Linked DNA regions of Homo sapiens: region 2 is linked to region 1. Evidence: promoter capture Hi-C in 16 types of primary human blood cells and fetal thymus (Javierre and others, 2016). All regions are on one chromosome and are shown on one strand. The core of a region is centred on a gene start or on the middle of the fragment in contact, and the rest is flanking DNA. Distances in the headings are between cores, read along the strand shown.

What was found. The method cuts DNA at HindIII sites, captures the fragments that hold promoters and counts their contacts. A CHiCAGO score of 5 or more calls a contact.
Region 2: a contact is called between a fragment that was not itself captured here and the fragment with the promoter of TYMS in region 1, in 1 of 17 cell types (fetal thymus). The highest score is 5.3, in fetal thymus.

The regions. Positions count from the first base shown.
Region 1 is chr18:654,514-658,902 of GRCh38, forward strand. It overlaps TYMS (thymidylate synthetase), which reads left to right and starts at 3,140. Exons shown (of 7, transcript NM_001071.4): 1 at 3,140-3,434. The coding sequence starts at 3,230. It overlaps TYMSOS (TYMS opposite strand RNA), which reads right to left and starts at 3,778. Exons shown (of 2, transcript NR_171001.1): 1 at 3,329-3,778. RefSeq lists enhancers at 2,864-3,365, 3,366-3,865, 3,733-3,852 and silencers at 3,103-3,282, 3,453-3,502. The HindIII fragment of the contact is 8,200 bases long and covers 1-4,389 here.
Region 2 is chr18:2,587,403-2,591,863 of GRCh38, forward strand. It overlaps NDC80 (NDC80 kinetochore complex component), which reads left to right. Exons shown (of 17, transcript NM_006101.3): 8 at 428-521; 9 at 1,802-1,908; 10 at 2,616-2,760. Among named protein-coding and RNA genes, the nearest start is that of NDC80, 18 kb to the left of the region's middle. RefSeq lists an enhancer at 1,732-2,931. The HindIII fragment of the contact is 1,806 bases long and covers 2,016-3,821 here.

The DNA.
Region 1 (4,389 bases), core at 1,890-4,389:
GTGCAACTGATGCAGGGCAGGTGAGCCCAGAATTGGGCTTAGCTCAGGAGGGTTCTTGGTTTTGCTCAGGAAAGAATTTAAGAGCTACCTGGTAGAAGAAAAGCTCTACTGATATGGCAACAGCTCCCTGAGTGCCCCTGTAGAGCAGAGCTACCCTATAGGCAGTGTGCTGACAGCAGTAGCTTAAAGGCAGGTCTGCAGTGATATTTATAACCTACTTTCAATTACATGCAAATTAAGGGGCAGATTATGCAGAAATGTCTAGAAAAAGGGTGGTAACTTCCGGTTGTCGGCTCACTGCCATGGAAAGGGGCAGTAAGCTCTGGATGTTGCCATGACAATCGTAAACTGACATGGCACACTGGTGGGCACGTCTTATGGAAAACTACTTCTGCCCCATCCTTGTTTTGACTACTCCTCAATTTGGTCCCATGTCAGAGCCCTGCCTCCAGAGTCAAGCCCTGTCTACCTCACAATTATTATGTATCAGGTTTTTAAAAAATAACACAAGTAAGGCTGGGCATGGTGGCTCACGCCTTTAATCCCAGCACTTTGGGAGGCCGAGGTGGGCAGATCACTTCAGATCAGAAGTCTGAGACAAGCCTGACCAACATGGTGAAACCCTGTCTCTCCTAAAAATGCAAAAAAAAAAAAAAAGAAAAAAAAATTAGCTGGGCATGGTGGCAGGCGCCTATAGTTCCAGCTACTTGGGAGGCTGAGGCAGAATTGCTTGAACCCATGCAGCGGAGTTTGCAGTGAGCTGAGCACCACTGCACTGCAGCCTGAGGGACAGAGCAAGATTCCACCTCAAAAAAAAAAAAAAAAAAAAAAAAGGAAAAAGAATAACACAAGGAAATTAAACACAGATAACGTGCATCTGGATAATCTGGAATATTTTCAGCCTGGGATCTTCCTCGTGCTCGGAAACGTGTAGGGAAACGTGTAGGGACAGTTTTCAGCTGGTGTGGGGTGGGGGAATGCCAACATATGGTTGGCTTTCCACAGTCCTGCTAAAGCCCTGCAATGTGCAGAACAAACCGGTCCAGCTAAGAAAAGTCCCACCCAAAATGCTGAGAGCACCTCTGTACTCAATCAACCGTTGAGGTAAAAGGATGCTTGCAAGTACAACACATGTATCAGTGCATTTTAAACTCATTATAAAATCGTTCTGTAAACCAAAAATAAAATTCTACGCCCAGAACCATCTGAAAAGACCACTCCTCTGGGTCAAAGGCATTCCAAATTTAACCACAAAAACTAGTTCAGGCCATGATGGGAAGGGGAGCCAGACATGCCTCATTATTCCCTCCTCCGTTTGGAATTTAGGCACAGCTGACCAGCATTGACATCAACACAGGCCTCAAGACAGGTAGAACACACTCTTTAAGTCTGACAAGAAACATTTACAATCTATCTCTCTAAAGCCTGCTACCTGGAGGTTTAATCTGCATGATGAATCCATGGTCTCCACAACCCCTTATCTTAACCCAGATATTCCTTTCTATTCATTCAAATCTTTTTTTTTTTTTTCCCCATACGGCTCTGTCACCCAGACTGGAGTGCAGTGGCGCTTTCTCAGCTACTGCAAGCAACCTCCGCCTCCTGGGTTCAAGCGATTCTCCTACCTCAGCCTCCTGAGTACCTGGGGTTACAGGCGTGTGCCACCTCGCCCCACTAATTTTTGTATTTTCAGTAGAGAGGGTTTCACTATGTTGGCCAGGATGGTCTCAATCTCCTGACCTCGTGATCTGCCCGCCTCGACCTCCCAAGTGCTGGGATTACAGGCGTGAGCCACCGCGCCCAGCCCTCTATTGATTCCAGATCTTTAGATAACAATTCTTTCAACCAAATGTATAAAAAATCAAGTTGTAGCCCAACCACCTTGGGGACATGTTCTCAGGATCTGCTGAGGGCTCTATCACCGGCCATTGGTCACTCATATTTGGCTCAGAATAAATTTCTTCAGATATTTTACAGAGTTTAACTCTTTTCATCAACAGTTCCCACTCCCCAGTGTTAATGTTATAAACAATTCAGTAAAACTGGGAAATGTGGTCTATTAAAAACTTGGGGCCGAGTGCGGTGGCTCACGCCTGTAATCCCAGCACTTTGGGAGGCCAATGTGGGTGGATCACCTGAGGTCAGGAGTTTGAGACCAGCCTGGCTAACATGGCGAAACCCCGTCTCTACTAAACATGAAAAAAAAAAATTAGCCGGGCGTGGTGGCGGCGCCTGTAGTCCCAGCTACGCGAGAGGCTGAGGCAGCAGAATTGCTTGAACCCAGGAGGCGGAGGTTGCAGTGAGCCGAGATCGCACCATTGCACTCCAGCCTGGGTGAGAGAGCGAGACTCTGTCTCAAAAAAAAAAAAAAAAGACCGCCAGGGCTCAAACAAAAAACCTCGGAAAAGCCCTGGCGGTCTTTTTTTTTTTTTTTTTTTTTTTTTTGGGACAGTCTTGCTCTGTCGCCCAGGCTGGAGTACAATGGTCGGATCTTGGCTCACTGCAACCTCTGCCTCCCAGGTTCAAGCAATTCTTCTGCCTCAGCCTCCCAAGTAGCCACCACGCCCAGCTAATTTTTGTACTTTTAGTAGAGACGGGGGTTTCACCATGTTGTCCAGGCTGGTCTTGAACTCCTGACCTCAGGTGATCCACCCGCCTCGGCCCCCCAAAGTACTAGGATTACAGGCGTGAGCCACCGCGTCCAGCGCCCTGGCGGTTTTTAATCAAGTAGAAAAGCTGCATTATACCACTTGCTTCGGTTGCTTCAGTGAGAACGAAGAAATGGAAATGCAAATCCCTTATTAGTTGTAGGAAACAGATCTCAAACAGCAGTTTTGTTGACAAGACCGCAGGAAAACGTGGGAACTGTGCTGCTGGCTTAGAGAAGGCGCGGTCGACCAGACGGTTCCCAAAGGGCGCAGTCCTTCCCAGCCACCGCACCTGCATCCAGGTTCCCGGGTTTCCTAAGACTCTCAGCTGTGGCCCTGGGCTCCGTTCTGTGCCACACCCGTGGCTCCTGCGTTTCCCCCTGGCGCACGCTCTCTAGAGCGGGGGCCGCCGCGACCCCGCCGAGCAGGAAGAGGCGGAGCGCGGGACGGCCGCGGGAAAAGGCGCGCGGAAGGGGTCCTGCCACCGCGCCACTTGGCCTGCCTCCGTCCCGCCGCGCCACTTGGCCTGCCTCCGTCCCGCCGCGCCACTTCGCCTGCCTCCGTCCCCCGCCCGCCGCGCCATGCCTGTGGCCGGCTCGGAGCTGCCGCGCCGGCCCTTGCCCCCCGCCGCACAGGAGCGGGACGCCGAGCCGCGTCCGCCGCACGGGGAGCTGCAGTACCTGGGGCAGATCCAACACATCCTCCGCTGCGGCGTCAGGAAGGACGACCGCACGGGCACCGGCACCCTGTCGGTATTCGGCATGCAGGCGCGCTACAGCCTGAGAGGTGACGCCGCGGGCCCCTGCGGGACGGGTGGCGGGAAGGAGGGAGGCGCGGCTGGGGAGAGCGCTCGGGAGCTGCCGGGCGCTGCGGACCCCGTTTAGTCCTAACCTCAATCCTGCGAGGGAGGGGACGCATCGTCCTCCTCGCCTTACAGACGCCGAAACGGAGGGTCCCATTAGGGACGTGACTGGCGCGGGCAACACACACAGCAGCGACAGCCGGGAGGTAAGCCGCGTCCCAGCGGCTCCGCGGCCGGGCTCGCAGTCGCCCCAGTGATGCCGTGGCCCCCGAGGCGGGCGTCATCGGGCAGCGTTTGCCCAGTGCTGGAGGGTTAGGGAGAGCTGCCTGGGCTTGACCGCGCGCCGGTCTCAAAGTCCTGGCTTTGGCCCCTCCTCCGTTTTCCCCTGTGGACCATTCCGCTTCGCAGCGTTTTCAAAAACTGGAGCGAAAGTGATGTGGGCGGGGCAAAGGCGGCGGGAAGAGGAGAGCACTGAAGCTGGCGCGGGAACTTGGTTTCCTGGTGGCCTCCCATCCAATCCCCACGAACCAGCTTTCCTCTTAAACCTTGAAAAGAGAAATTCGGGAGTTCGAGTATAAGTTCTTAGTCGTCCTTTCCTCTTTCCTTTCCGACAGGAGCACCCCAGGCAAAAAATGTCTCGCGGGTCATTGGCGCCAGGCTTTCAGGGGACAGTGGGGCGGGGCGGGGTGGGCACAGGACGTTAGGCAGCCGTTGGCCCTCCCTAAGGCCACACCGTCCTGCCGTCCTGGATCCTGCGCCAGCTGCGCGGGGGAGGGGACTCGAAGGTGTGTGAGCCAGGGGCTGACCTTGACCGCTCAGATAAATGGAGCGCAGCCTTGACACAGGGGTGGAGGTGGTTTTGAATGGGGAAACCCATTCGTGGTGAAGCAGATTCACTGTAGCTAGCGGAAAAGCCCTCCGGCCCACGGACCCATCTAG
Region 2 (4,461 bases), core at 1,669-4,168, 1.9 Mb after region 1:
TACAATTAGACCTTATCAATTCAATTGGACTTAGATGATCAGCAGTTTATTTAAATTTTTCATCAGGTGCTTTATTCCTAAAGATGATTAAGTTTGTGCATTTTATGTTGAATTACATTTATTAATAAGCTTCCCTGTTTGTTTGACCTTCTCAAAATTCTGAAGGTATGGCTGTTTTTAAATATTGCCTTTATCCAAATTTAAGTGTTATTTTATCCTCATTATTCATATTTAGAAGTAGCAGACTAAATAAGTCCATATAGCATAATTATATAGCCTAGGTTTTTGTCTCTTATTTATAGGTTCATCTGACTACTTAGTATTTCTGACTATTTTTTAAATTCAAATATAAATTTCCACCTAGAAAAGTGAAACAGACCAAATAGAGAATCATAACTTTGTTTCTAAAATCTGCTTAACCCCATAGTTGTTTTTGGACTACACCATAAAATGCTATGAGAGTTTTATGAGTGGTGCCGACAGCTTTGATGAGATGAATGCAGAGCTGCAGTCAAAACTGAGTAAGTGTTCTCGTTCTTAGGGTGCTTGCTTTTGGTCATTTCACTCTGCTCATGGAGTGGTAATTTATTTACCATATCCAGTGTTCATATGAGCTACTTACTTTAAATGTATCTGGATGCCTACTGATTTTTATCTTTGTGGTTTCTTTGGTGGAGAGAAGTTAAACAAAAAGAATACTAGTGTTGGAGCCAGACCTGAGCCATAACATCTTACTGTCTGTGGCGCCTTAATAAAATACTTGACCTCCTGACAAAGTGTAGCAGCAGTAGATGACAGTATAATAAAGTCATAATATACCAAACATGCTACCAGAAGCATAGACAATAATTAGCAAATGCTATTCCTCTTGGGGGATAATATCCCTACGTTGTCCTTGCTTACTATTTGAGAAATTAAAGCACCAATTAGTCAAAAGACCTAAGGTCTCTTTCAAAATTTGTGGCAAAAAGTTAACAAGACATTATACTTCCAAATATGTAAGGAAAATCTTTTTTTTTTTTTACTCATTTACAACCTAGTGACATACAGTATTTACTAGATAACTCTAAAACATTCCAGAGGTATTATTTTACATTTTCATTCTTTCTATTGAAATAGTCTTGTATATAAAATGCCAAAATGGAAGGTAAAATAGATAAATGGAGGTGAAGCTATTCCTCCAACAATGGAATCAATCACTTTGCCAGTATTATCACAAAAGCTGAAAGCATTCCCTTATAGTCCCCTGGGATTGTATCTTCCTGAAGAGTAACCAGGACAATTTCAGCTTGTTCACATGGGAAAGGGAGCAAAATAAATGGCTTTGTTTTAAGAGAGGAAAATTTAGAGTGATCTAAGCATCTAATGAGTAATTTGATATTTCTGTATATAATTAACCAAGCATAAAAACTGCATTCATTTATTCAAATAAATATTTTTTGTATACCTACTATGTGCCAGCCACCATTTAGGCACTGAGGATACAGTAATGAATAGGATAAAAACCTCTGCCCTTATGAGCTTACATTTTAGTAGACAGAAAGAGGAAAATAATGAAATGAGCAACTTTAAGTCAAATGGTGATAAGCGCTTTGGAGAAAAATCAAGCAGGACAAGGAGAGTCGAAGTACGGTGGAGTAATGGAAAGGGTTTGCTGTTTTACAAGGATGGGATGTACTTCACTAATAGTGTTTTGGGCAGAGACCAGAAGGAAGTGAGGGAGGGAGTAATGGTGAAAACTTGGGAAAGAATGTTCTAGGCGGATTTGAGGTCTTAAAAAGCTTTTGGATTTTGTCTCCAGAGGATTTATTTAATGTGGATGCTTTTAAGCTGGAATCATTAGAAGCAAAAAACAGAGCATTGAATGAACAGATTGCAAGATTGGAACAAGAAAGAGAAAAAGAACCGGTTAGTAAACATGTTTACACACTTACTTGAGAGCTCTTTTAGACTTTTGGGTGTCCTTGGATATTAGCTGTCTTTATCAAAATTTTAAAAAATAGATTAACAAATTAAGCTTCTTAAAAGTTAAATTTTCACCTAGAAACTCCCAATGAAAACATGTTTGGTATCTGTGGAGCCTTGTTTTCCCTTGCGGTCTATCAGTCTTAGACTAATGGTGCTCTGGATATGATGAAAGATTCTTACCTACTTACATAAGATCAAAAGTACTTTTGAACAAAGGCCCTGTGTTATATACCTCTAGGGAGCATTAGTCACAAGAAGCCCTGAGTTTTGGAGGTAGTGCAAAAGGAATGGTTAATAAATGGGTTTATATAGTATATTGTATCCTGAGTTTTCTAAAAGCTAAATATTAATATCCAGTTATCTAACTTTATTTTCTGCATTATTAGTGAAGCACTCAAACTGTTGTTGTAAAATACCAGATTTTAAATATTTGTGCTTTTTCAACCCTAGCAATTGTGGTTTTTTTTTTTTTCTATTTCAAACTGACAGTGTAGTCCCCTTTTAGTTCTTTTGACTTCCTCTAAAAATGAAAGGAAAACTCAAATCTACCTTTCTCTAAAATAAATTTAAATAATATTGCTTTACTTTAAAATAAAATATGGAATGGTTATTAAGAATAACTAAAGTTATATTCTTTTCTCTTAAAGAATCGTCTAGAGTCGTTGAGAAAACTGAAGGCTTCCTTACAAGGAGATGTTCAAAAGTATCAGGCATACATGAGCAATTTGGAGTCTCATTCAGCCATTCTTGACCAGAAATTAAATGGTCTCAATGAGGAAATTGCTAGAGTAGGTAAGCAGAGCTAATGCTAAAAGACTGGGATGCGAACCTGTGTGGGATTTGTCACATGTAAAAACAGCTTTGTTATCCATATCTTTTGTTGTTCTGTGGTACATGCTTAGAGCAGGCTACCAAGTTTTCAGTGTGTTTCGTATTTGTTTCCTAAGGCTGCTGTCACAAATGATCACAAGTTTGGATGGCTTAAAACAACAGAAATGTATTATCGCACAGTTCTAGAGGCTGTTCCAGCAGATCTGCATCCCTCCAAGGACTCAGGGAGGATCTATTCCTTGCCTCTTGCAGCTTTTAGTGGCTGGCAGCATTACTGGGCTATGTTCACATCACTCCGATCTCTGCCTCCATCTTCACATTGCCTTCTCCTCTGTGTTTGTACTCTACTACCTGTGTGAAATATCTCCCTCTGCCTCTATCTTATAAGGACATTTGAGATGAGATTTAGGGCCCACCTGGATAATAATACAGGGCTCTCTCTTCATCTCAAGATACTTAATCACATCTGCAAAGACCCTTTTCCCAAATAAGGTAATTTCACAGTTTCCAGAGATAGAACTTTATATATTTAGGTGGCCATTGTTCAACCTACTACTCCTTACATGTTTTCAAGCATTTGGCTTTTTGAAGCCAAGAAGGACCCAACCTAAGAAAACATGCTGCCTGAATATAGAAATATATAAAAATTCTATACAAATATATACTGTATTCCACTTTGTGGTTAATAAGCCAGATAAACCAGATTCTTTTGTTTTTTTTGAGATGAAGTCTTGCTATTTTGCCCAGGCCAGTCTCGAACTCCTGGGTTCAAATAATCCTCCCACTTCAGTCTCCCACGTAGCTGGGACTATAATAGGTGGGCTCCACCATGCTTGGCTCTAATAAGCCAGATTCTTGATGTCTGCCTGCCTCAGTCTGCTATAACTGGCTATCCTCCATCACTACCGCCTAAGCACCTCAGCAGCTGAAACTGATTGAAAATCAAAATTAAAGCTGCAAGTACTACAGTTCTCGGGGAAAAGAGCAACCAAAGAAAGCTCTTTTATGTCTTATGTCTTGTAAGCTTACTTTCATAAACACAGCAATCTTAATCATAAAATTCTGTAAAACACTATGGCACATGCAATTGCTTGATTCTTCTGCAGTGCCTGAAGGAGAGTAAAGAAAGGTATCTGCAAGTCACAGAGCCACTGGGCTGTACTTTTAAAAATAAATTTATTGACAACTATACTGTTTTCCCAGGACTTTGCCTACTTCTGTTTGTTTCTTTTGGGATTTTGCTGGCTGTGTCTGTCCCACATGGGAGTTGTATACATGGCCCTTAGGATATTTGATTTAACTCTTAGTCTATGGAGTATTGATTGTCAACTCAAGACTAGTAATTACCAGGGTTATTTGCTGAATCTGTTTTTTTTTTCCAAATAACTCTGATTTATATATATATATTGGATTTGCTCTAAACCAACTCTTTAAATATATTAACTACTTTACACTTGGCCCCTAATCAATGTCCTTTGTTTATTCTTCATGATGACAAAGAAGCTTGGACTAAATTATTATTATAATAATTTTTATAATGCAATTAATCAATACTTTTTTTTTTTTTTTTTGAGATGTAGTCTTGCTGTGTCACCCAGGCTGAAGTGCAGTGGCACCATCTCCGCTCACTGCAACCTCCGCCTCCCGGGTTCAAATAATTCT